Linked DNA regions of Homo sapiens: region 1 is linked to region 2. The links are contacts of gene promoters, found by promoter capture Hi-C in blood cells and fetal thymus (Javierre and others, 2016). All regions are on one chromosome and are shown on one strand. The core of a region is centred on a gene start or on the middle of the fragment in contact, and the rest is flanking DNA. Distances in the headings are between cores, read along the strand shown.

Evidence for each region. Contacts are between HindIII fragments. The CHiCAGO score rates a contact against its expected background, and 5 or more counts as called.
Region 1: a fragment that was not itself captured here is called in contact with the fragment with the promoter of ANKFN1 in region 2 in 3 of 17 cell types (M1 macrophages, M0 macrophages and endothelial precursors); the score reaches 7.5 in M1 macrophages.

What each region holds. Positions count from the first base shown.
Region 1 is chr17:56,315,261-56,320,451 of GRCh38, forward strand. The region is part of intron 3 of ANKFN1 (ankyrin repeat and fibronectin type III domain containing 1); the gene reads left to right. Among named protein-coding and RNA genes, the nearest start is that of ANKFN1, 160 kb to the left of the region's middle. The HindIII fragment of the contact is 491 bases long and covers 2,144-2,634 here.
Region 2 is chr17:56,151,097-56,155,877 of GRCh38, forward strand. ANKFN1 (ankyrin repeat and fibronectin type III domain containing 1) reads left to right here and starts at 2,379. Exons shown (of 21, transcript NM_001370326.1): 1 at 2,379-2,434. The HindIII fragment of the contact is 1,365 bases long and covers 1,906-3,270 here.

The DNA.
Region 1 (5,191 bases), core at 1,139-3,638, 160 kb after region 2:
AAGAATTAAATGTACTTTGAAGTTGCAAATGTCACAGAAAACTCCCACTTTTCCTTGATGCTGAAGATAAATCACTGAAGGAACAATGAGAATGGATAATCAGCCTTGGTTGTAGTTGTATTTGACAGACTGAGTTTGAGCATCTGACAAATGCGTGAAACACTGTGACTCCCCTTTCAAACTAAGAGAAGACTATGCTAGCTAGCAGGGCAGCCCAGACAGAAGGTGCCTGTTGCTGTCCTTTTAATCCTCTCTGAGCAAAATCTTGTACTTTTCTCCCAAATAGTGAAGGAAGTGAATAAGCCATTGACCTTTTAATTCCATTCAACGCCTTTGCTGTGCTGCAAGGTGCATCCAGTAGGTTTCACAATGCAGAAGAATGACATTGAGTATTTGGCATATGCAGTCCTTGAGAAAGCTCCTCTGAGCTTAGAAAGCTCCTCTACTCCTTAGAAAGTAGCCAGAGCAGCCCATTCAGACTCTGCTCTATCTGATTTCATAGGAGTTCAGAGTCTGGGACAAAATGAAGAAAGGGAATTTGGACAGGAGTCTGAAGACAGAAGAACTAGGCCAGAAATAAAAGGGTCACACCAATGTCTGTGAAGAGAAGATGGGAATAATAGAGATGAGGCTACAATTTAAAAAGATGAATCAGTCAAGGCTTCTTAAAAGTGTTCCTACAACCTCTTCAACTTTCTTTTTGTTTTTCCTCCTCTGTTCTTCTTTCTTCTCCAATTCATTAAATGCCTCTTTGCTGCTATATGCCTTAGGTCAGACGCTCCTGACATTTGTACAGCAAACTTCATCTGACATTTTTAGAAGAAAGGGGACAAAGTTTTTATTTTCAGCTGAGAGTAATTTTAATGGGTAAAGTGGCATTTACAGTCAACGTTTAACTGATAGTGCAGATGGCCTTTATAATTGCTGGGTCTTATTACACAGTTATGCGTCTTTATTATTATGCTTGAATGTGCAAATAGAATTAACTTCCTTGCTTCTCTTGGTATTTCAAATTCTCACTGTGATTAATTACAAAGAATTCTCTCCTTAATACTAAGGATCTGATTCCATGAAGTTGTGGAGATAAACCAAGGAGACTTTTCCATTTGTAAAATGGAGGAGGTATTTCTTATGGCAGTAGAAAGCTGAGCAATTTGGCAGGAGACTGGGTCATAAGCCACCCACTCAAGTATCATCTAAGGAACACTTAGGCTGTGAAATAAATGGAGAAAAGGACCTGGAAAATACGGAAGGCTTCTTTAGAGATTTATTCATTTAGCAGTTAGCCAAGGGTAGAGGACCCTTTTGGAAATTTGGTCTTGGGGGCCTAAAATTTAACTTAAGCCTGGATTCAAATGCCAAACAGAAGTATTCCTAGAAGAATTGACAAAAAACAAAAAAATCTCATTTTGACTGGCACTCAGGAGAGAAAAATAAATGAGGGTGGAAGGAGGAGAGTTTTCTTTATGGCTTGACTGACCACCAAAGCTATCCAGATTCCTCACCCAAATCACCACCCACTGAGTGGGGCCACCTAGGGTAATTAAAGGATCAAATGCTCCTGTGCTATACTGTAAGCATTTAAAAAGCACCAGTCCCACTAATAGAAACATCTTGTTGGCTTTCTCTGAAGAAAACCTGAATAGAGAATAGAATTCTATTAATGAGTGAGGCACATCTACATTAGTTCCTTTTTAAAAAAGAAAACATTCCTGATAAATAACACACGTTTAAAGCAGATTTCAGCACACTCTCTGGAAAGAGAGATCACATATATTGACTCTGAAATATCAGACCATATGTCCAATACAAACCAAGACTAGCTGGGTTGAAATAAAGCATTTTTTTCTTTGTGGCAGAGAAGTTCTTCTATGTGTTAAGTGCTCTATGGCTTCTTGACATCATAACATGTTAGAGCTAGAAGTGACTTTCAACGTCATCTAGCATGACCCCCTCACTTAGAGGAGAAAACTGAAGGTGTTTTTAAAAAAGAAAAAAGCCAGAAGAACCTTCAAGAACATTCCAGTTGCTGTCCAGAAACATTGCAAATCAACCTTTTTAGATGCTTTAGCAAAAGGGAAAACTCCAGCTTGCCTTCATCTTTGACTCATAGGAAAGGTGTAAATCCCACCCACGTAGTTAAAGCTTTCTTGCTGGACTCCCGCTTATTTTGAATTTAACAAAGGCTAAAAAGCCCATTGTGAAATGTTTGTTTGGAGGGCCAGAATCTAAACTTGCATTCCTTGTCATGGTCATTTTTTTAAAAGAAGATGACAGATTAGAGTAACAGAAGGGGAGAGACTCCAGCAATGCTAGACATAAGAGACCATCAGAAGAGGATGCTCTTTCTTTCTGGCTTGCTGTTGTTATTTTTATTTTCCACATACTCCTAAGGGTATCGGGTTTATCACCATGGCTGGGATGGGGCTTGGAATGTGGTGGACAATATGACAACAATTTCCTTCCTGGTGTGTCCCTGAATGGCCAGTGCAGTCAACACATAATCAGACAATCTACAGCTGCACTGTTGCTGTTGACAACTTCATTATGCCTGTGATATTCAGCTGGGTAATTCATTTCTCCAGCTTGGCAATATCTCCTGATATGCCTAAATGGGTTCAATGTAATTTTGTAAGCTTTTGAAGATGCTTACCCTTCCCTTGTGAGACACGATACACATTGTCTCCCCTTGTGCTTAGCTTTGTCCTAATATGGGAAACAATGATAACCACCACCAGGAAATAGCATTGCCTTGTTCAGCTCTTTAGTGCAGATTGAGTCTCCAGACCACAAAGGCAGGAAATATTAGTGATTGGAATGACACAGTAGGTCACTTAATGTCCCTTGTAACTGCCTTTTTTTAAATTTTATTTTTATTTTTTGGCCTGCCTCTGCAATTAACCTTCATATAACCAGGGCATTTTTCTACAAAACCAGATGGCCTTGCCAAGGATGTAAAAATAGATAATTAATGGTTCTGGGGGGGGTGTGCTGGCCTTTGGCATGATACCTCTACCCTCACCAATACTGTCCTGAAATGGAAGAAGCAGATAAGAAAGTAGAAATATGAGCATGCATAGCATCCAACACCAAAGCTGCCCTTTTCCTTAAACTGGGAAAAAGTATAAAATGCATTCCTCTGAGTTCTCTTTAATTCTTTTCAATTAAACCTATATGTATTGAAAATTATCTACCATGCACAGGGCCCCAGTCCAAGAGCTGAGAGGGAAATTCAAAAATCAATGAGGCCCGGGTCCTGCCCTCATGGAGATTTCAATCCAGTAAGGGAATTACATAGAGCCCCAAGTAACTCTAATGAAGTTAGGCTGTGCTGAGAGTTTTAACATCGTTATAAATACTACAAGGAGAGAGGAGAAAGACATTCATTCCATCGGGAACATGAAAGAGAGGTAAATAGTCTGTCTTCAGGGCCACCTTCCTTATTCCACCAGCCAATCTGTATTCTTTTAAGAAAATCTGGTCTGCTGAGAATCTTATTGGAGTCAACGTCTTAGTTCTGAGTTAGGACTACTCATCCTATCTGATTTCCAAGTGCTTGTTTGTCGTCATTGATAATGATCTGTTCCCAAGTATCTCAAATGAAAATGGAGAAGATAGCATAAAGATAGGTCAAAGAGTCTTTCAGGTTATTCTTTTATCTTTTTATCTACCTGTTTTCTTGACTTTATAAAGCTAAATTCTCCTAAGTGGACTCCTGTTGGCAAGTAGAAAATAGAGACTGAATCTGTGACTTTTAACTGCAGATATTTCAATATTAAGATTTTCTTTACAAAAAAAATGAGGAGGAAGAAAAAACATAGACAAAGGAGGAAGAAGAGGAGGAGGGGTCTGCCTAAAATTGAGTAGTCATTTATCCTTCAGTATTTTGACTAATCAACGAAACCGTTTTGACTTGTCTATTGAATAGTCACCTCATGGATTCCAGCTTCCGTGCCTACTGGTGAAGATTCATATGATTTGATGGGTAGCTGTACACATACATAGGGTTTTGAAAAAGCTGAAACCCTGAAGTCTGATAAATGTTCTATTTTTTAATCTAGACAAACATTGGTTTATGAGTTATCAAATCCTAGAGTATTAACTATTTCATTTTCAAATTGTTTGAGAATTCTGCACAACATCCTTAAAGTAAACCAGGGCACAAAAATCATCTTTGGCTTTGAATCACCAATAAAAGACTTCCCCAGAGGAACGGCCAAAATGAGTGTTGTAAATGGAGAGGGATCCCAACATCTCTGCCATGGATAACAGTCCTCTACCACAACCGCACTACAGTCCAGATATCCCTATACAAAGGCATGATTGAGGTCCAATTAGCCACCAACCTATTACACACTTTATTCATTATGACCAAATCTAGTGCATCAAAGAATACAGATGGCCTAGGGATTGGTCATAAGAAGCAACCTGTGCTGGCTCCTTTTAAAGAGAGTTAGGTGAATACTGCCACCTATTGATAGGTGAAATTTATGCTACAAATTCCTACTGATGTGCTAATGCTTATCAGAGCTGATCTCATTTCTCAGTTGGCCAAAGCATTTTATCAGCCCGAACTTCATAATTATTTACATGTTTTTGATGAAAAATAATTATGTTACATTAATGTAAAACAACTAACGAAATGTATTATATTTCTTATTATATTATTATACATATTATGTATTATTTCTTATTTCTTGGCAAAGGAATGAAGTGGAAATACCACAAACTTTGCAGAGACCTGGGTCTGAGTCTCAGCTCAGTCCCTAAATGCACATAAACAAGCTGATTAATCTCTCTGAACCTGAGTTTCCTCATCGATAAAAAGTGGGTAATCCTACTTTGTAGAGTGTGAGAATTCAGAGATACCATTGCATGGCACATAGAAGGTATTTGATAAATGGCAGCATTTATTTTTCCACTGAGCTATTAAAAGTAACTATTTTGATGCAATGATTGGTAATATGACAAACCACATCATGTATCAGACTCTGGTGAACTCTTCCACATGGTTCAATTATCCTTTGGCAATGCTACTTGTCTAGTATAGTATCTTTGACATCCAAAATTAAGACAGTGTGAACATAAATATTATAACCTGAAGTGTGCCAATTGAGAAAATAAGGATAAATGGGCTTCATTACCAAATGTCTCCTGACTGCCCTAGAGGATATATGGGGCCGAGCAGATA
Region 2 (4,781 bases), core at 1,129-3,628:
ATCTCTGCTCACTCAGTGTGCAGCCACCTCTCTGGTCCTCAGTCTTCATCTGTGACCTCCTTATGACCTTATAGCATTGGTCCTCTATTACTCACTTTGGCACCTAACACCCTCTACCTGCTGTTTTCATCATGAAGGTGCAGTGAGGACAGGACCTGCTCCCTTTGGTTGGAATCTTCCCCTGGTTAGTGCTGTCAGCCATGCAAAGTTTGTATTGTGTCATCATCCCCTGAAGAAAATAAGAAGGGAATCTGGGTCCAGATATTCCCAAATGATATGAATGTCTAAAATGCTGGGTTTGTGGCTATGTGCCAGTTGTAATTTGTGCATTTTTTGGTAGTAGGTTTTGTTGGATTTAGATTAGTCTTTTTATAAAATAAGCAGCATGGTAGAGTGGAGAAAGTGCTGGGTTGGGGCTATTTCCAGCCTGTCTACTACTAGGAAACACGCCCTTAAATGGGGCCTCTTTAGAGTAGATGGGCTGACAAAGCCAAGGGTATTGAAAAGAAGAAATAAGCACGTACCATGCAAGCCTAACTGGGCCTTTTTGCAACTCTGAGTTTCTGGGGTTTCATAGCCACAATCTGACCAACAGCACCACTGAGAGAGCTGGTTTTTATCCATTAAATAAAAGCATTACTTCCGTTACTCTCAGCTACACTTACTGCAGTAAGCCTAAGTAACATTAAAGACCAAGTCACCTTCATCTTACATAGATTTTAAACTTTTTGAAGCGGGCAGATACTATACCTTCACCTTGACTTGAATCTTCCCTTGAGCTTAATGCAGCTGACACTCAACAAAACACTCACAAATTGACTCATTGCTGTTCAATTCTTGAGTATATGTATCATGCACTTCCTATGTAACAAGCGTTTTACTAAGTATTAAAGAGTTTTTTTTAAAGAAAAGGAATGAAGCATGGTGCCTTCCATCAAGGAGATTCCATTCTGGTAGAGGGCCATTCCTGTGATTATGTACACATGCAGCAACAACTAAATCCATTTGATAAGCATTCTGAGGAAAAACTGTAAAAAGTACTATGGAAGCTGAGGTTGGGGATAGTAATGGAAAGTTCCTGGGGTAACTGATGCCAGAGCTAAGCCTTGGAAGATGAGTAATATAAGAAGCTCACCATCTTGCAGGGAAATATATATATATATATATGTGTGTGTGTGTGTGTGTGTGTGTGTGTGTGTGTGTGTGTTTAATTTTTCTGAGTGCCTCACTGTAACTCAGTACGAATATCCTCACTCCATGTTAAGCCCAGATCACCTGCAGAGATACCTATTATTACTTCTTTTCATTTACTTGTCTTTTTTTTTCCTATTGTATAGTAGCAGCAACATTTAGATAGAGAGTTCCCTTGAATTCTCTATTTTTAAAAAAGCAATTAGACATTCATGATCAAGGGTAATGGGGCTCTGGGCTCAAGTCCTCTATTTTGTTCCCATTCATCTGTGGGTCAATAGGTAAGCCACATCTGCTGAGCCTCAACTGCTTCAAAGTACTCATCCTTGCTGGACAGGCAAGTTGCTGGAAACAAGTTTTCCTTCAGCAACCATTCAGGTGGCAAATGTTTTATTGAACATCTACACTGTGCCAGGCACTAGGTGAGGAATCAGGGTCCAATCAAACTCTCCAAACCACTGCTCAACATACTCCTCCTTTGACAAATGGGTTTTCAAAATAAGCATGCACATAATGTGCCTCCTTTGGCACACTTCCCAAGAGATTTCACTCTGAAAAGAAAGGCCAGCCTCAGCCCTTAAAGTGCAGGCCAAATAAAAACTTGCTTGACTATCAAGATTATATTATCATCTCCCCTCCAGTTCCCACCAGACTTCTAGGAAACAGCCAGACAGCTCCTCCAACCAATCCAGTAGCCAAAATAATCCATTCCAAAGCTTCAACTGAGCATCTTAATGAAATAATTGTTTACCTGATTAGTATTCAGCATCCGCAGAAGGAGGCTAAAACCCACCCCTTTCAACCTTTCCTCTCTCAGTCTCACTCTCTCTTTCCTTCCCACCCTGTCTCCTTTCAGATATACTTTCGAATCCCACCCCTTTCAGGGGCACAAAGACCAACTCAAATCTGATCGCAGCATTATCAATCAACTTATTCCCTCCCCACCGGGCACCTCCTAAGATATTTTTCACCATTTCTTTCATTCTTTGAAAACGATTTCTTTGTCACCAAGCCTGTGTGGCACTTCCCCTGCCTCTCCTCTTGACCCTGCACTGTAATCTGGACACTCCTGGAGCCAAGCCGTGGGAGAGGCAGCCATGCTCAGTCTCCCTGGATAAAGCCAGGGTTCCCTTGGCAACGGGACCGTGTGGACATTCGCAAAGGGGTTTCCCTCCACCCCCCAGGTCCTCTTTCAACTCAAGAGCTCAGTCCTGTGTCTCTCATGGAGGCGTCTCTAACCAGGGTAGGAAAACAATAGTTCTAAATATCGGTAATTGGTGTTTGGAGGCCATTGTTTTGCATTCAACAGGCAGGAAAATGTGAGTTGAGTGGGCGAGTGAATTCGGGCGTTAGCTGGTGAGCATCCATGGTCAGGCAGAGGGAAAGCTGGTTTCATTTCTGTAAACAGGCAAATGTTGATCTGAAGTAGTTTGGGTCTGTAATGTGTGTCTTTGTCTTTTGGGAGGTGGGAGAATGGGGAGATTAAAGGAGAGAGGCTTCTAGAGACAAGTTTTTACTTTATGGTCTGTTTTCTCTTTTATCCTTATCATTTTATTTATATAAAGCAAGGAAACCAGGGATTACTTGTCTCCATGTTAATGCCAACTCTTGCTCATGATTTCTGACTGTTCACACGCTCTCACTGTCTCCCACATGGATTCTCTCCTTCTCTCTCTCTCACTTTTTATGGACTTTATTGTCATGATGATGGAGAAGTAAAATTTTTTCTAAAGTTGGAAGTGGATTTTTTTTTTGTAAGAGGTCATCTCTGAAGAGCTGAGCCAGGGCTAGGCAGGACAGAACTGATTGACACATACTAACCCTGTGGGTTGTGTCGGTGGTATCGGAATCCCTGTTACTGACCCAGATTGGTCCAGAAGACCTCAAATGTGCCTTTGGTTGATGGAGGAAATGCCTGTTATTGACTTGGTTAATACTAATCACAGGTTTCTACAATAATTCAGAAGGTTATTATTGAAGTCCTGGCTGAGGTCCTGGTAGGGGATACTAATAGGAGGAACTTATTCAGCTACTTCACTTCCCCTCAGGAGTTCAGAGTAGGTGAGGACCTTACCAAAAAGCTTTTCAGGAATGAACCTGAAGCTTAAGACCTTTGAAAAAACCAGAGATAAGTGCAAGTAAGGCATGAAAGGAGGAGGCCAGAGCACCGTTCAGTTTTCCTTTCCTTTTCTCTCTTTTCCTTCCTTTCTTTCTTTTTCCTTCCTTCCTTATAAAATCACATCCAGAGTGAGGCCTAAGCATAACTGCTTATGGAACCTCTGAGAAGGTATCTTGAAGTACTTGCTGAGTTTAAACTGGCTACTGCATTAACCTATTAACCAATATGCCAACACCAAAAAAAAAAAAAAAAACTTATTCCTTTTACTATGTATTCAAACTTTCAGTAAACCCTTTGGGGACAGGAACTATACAGTTTTCAATATTTTGCCCCTGATTCTAACCAGTTAGGGGCCAGGTACATTTGGGGGGCTCCATTCATGGTTGTAGAATTGAATTGAATGAACAGTGTGGGGTATGATTACCATTTGTTCCATGAAGTGTAGAGCTAGGACTAGTCTTGTGGTCAGAAGACTTAGGCTCTAGGCTCAGGTCTGACACTAATTAGTGGCAGAACTTCGACCATACTATTTCAGTTCTCTAACACTCAGTTTCTTCATCCATGAAGTGACAGAGTTTAAACGAGAACAGTGTTTTCCCAACAAAAGTAGTTATCTAAAGCCTTCATGCCCCCCTCAACCCTGGGGGATAGGAGGGTTTGGGAGAGGGAGGCCCGTCTGGTCAAGAACAGCTGCTGCAAAAAGGAACATGGCAGACAGAGGAGGAAGTAGAGCAAAAAGTGGCTCAGAGACTGGAAGCTGGAAAATGCTGGACCTTAGAGGACTCCTCAGGTCCCTTGTAACTCTGACATTTATTCAGAGTCATGAGACTTATCTCTCCCAGTTTTGTGTCACCTCTCCTGTATTAGGTACTTTTGAAGATGACACAAAGCAGTACTGTCATTTGTTCTGATATAGGCAAGCAAGCTACCTTTCTTCCATGAGACAAGGCTTCTCACTGCTGAGAGGTCTGAATCTCTGCCCTTGGAATGTGCCAAGCAGCTGGTCCTAAGCCAGCCACGCTCTGTCTCTTCATTCCAATATAGTCTTTCATTTATTCGACAATCAACAGGTAATTATTGAAAGCCAATAACTTTCCTTTTTTCTGGATAGCGTGGTCAGGAAGGTTCTCTTTGAGGAGGTGACAGTTAAGCTGAGGCACCAATTAAGTGAAGGAATAAGCTGTGCTTACAGTGGGAGAATAGCACTGGCTTGAGTCTGAGGACCCCCGTAAGTATGAGGCTCTTGATTTGGGGAGTCAGCTTGGCATGTCTTAAGGCAAAGCAAGGTGCCTGGGGCAGAAACAGAGTGAAGCAGAGAGGAGAGGTCAGAAGGTTGGAGTGAGATGACACAGATCACAGGGGCCTTGTAGGTCATGATAGGGACCAATGGGAAGCCATTGGATAAATTTTTACATAGAAATAATTATATCTGATCACTCCAGCAAATGCGCAGAGGATAGTGTTCTATAGA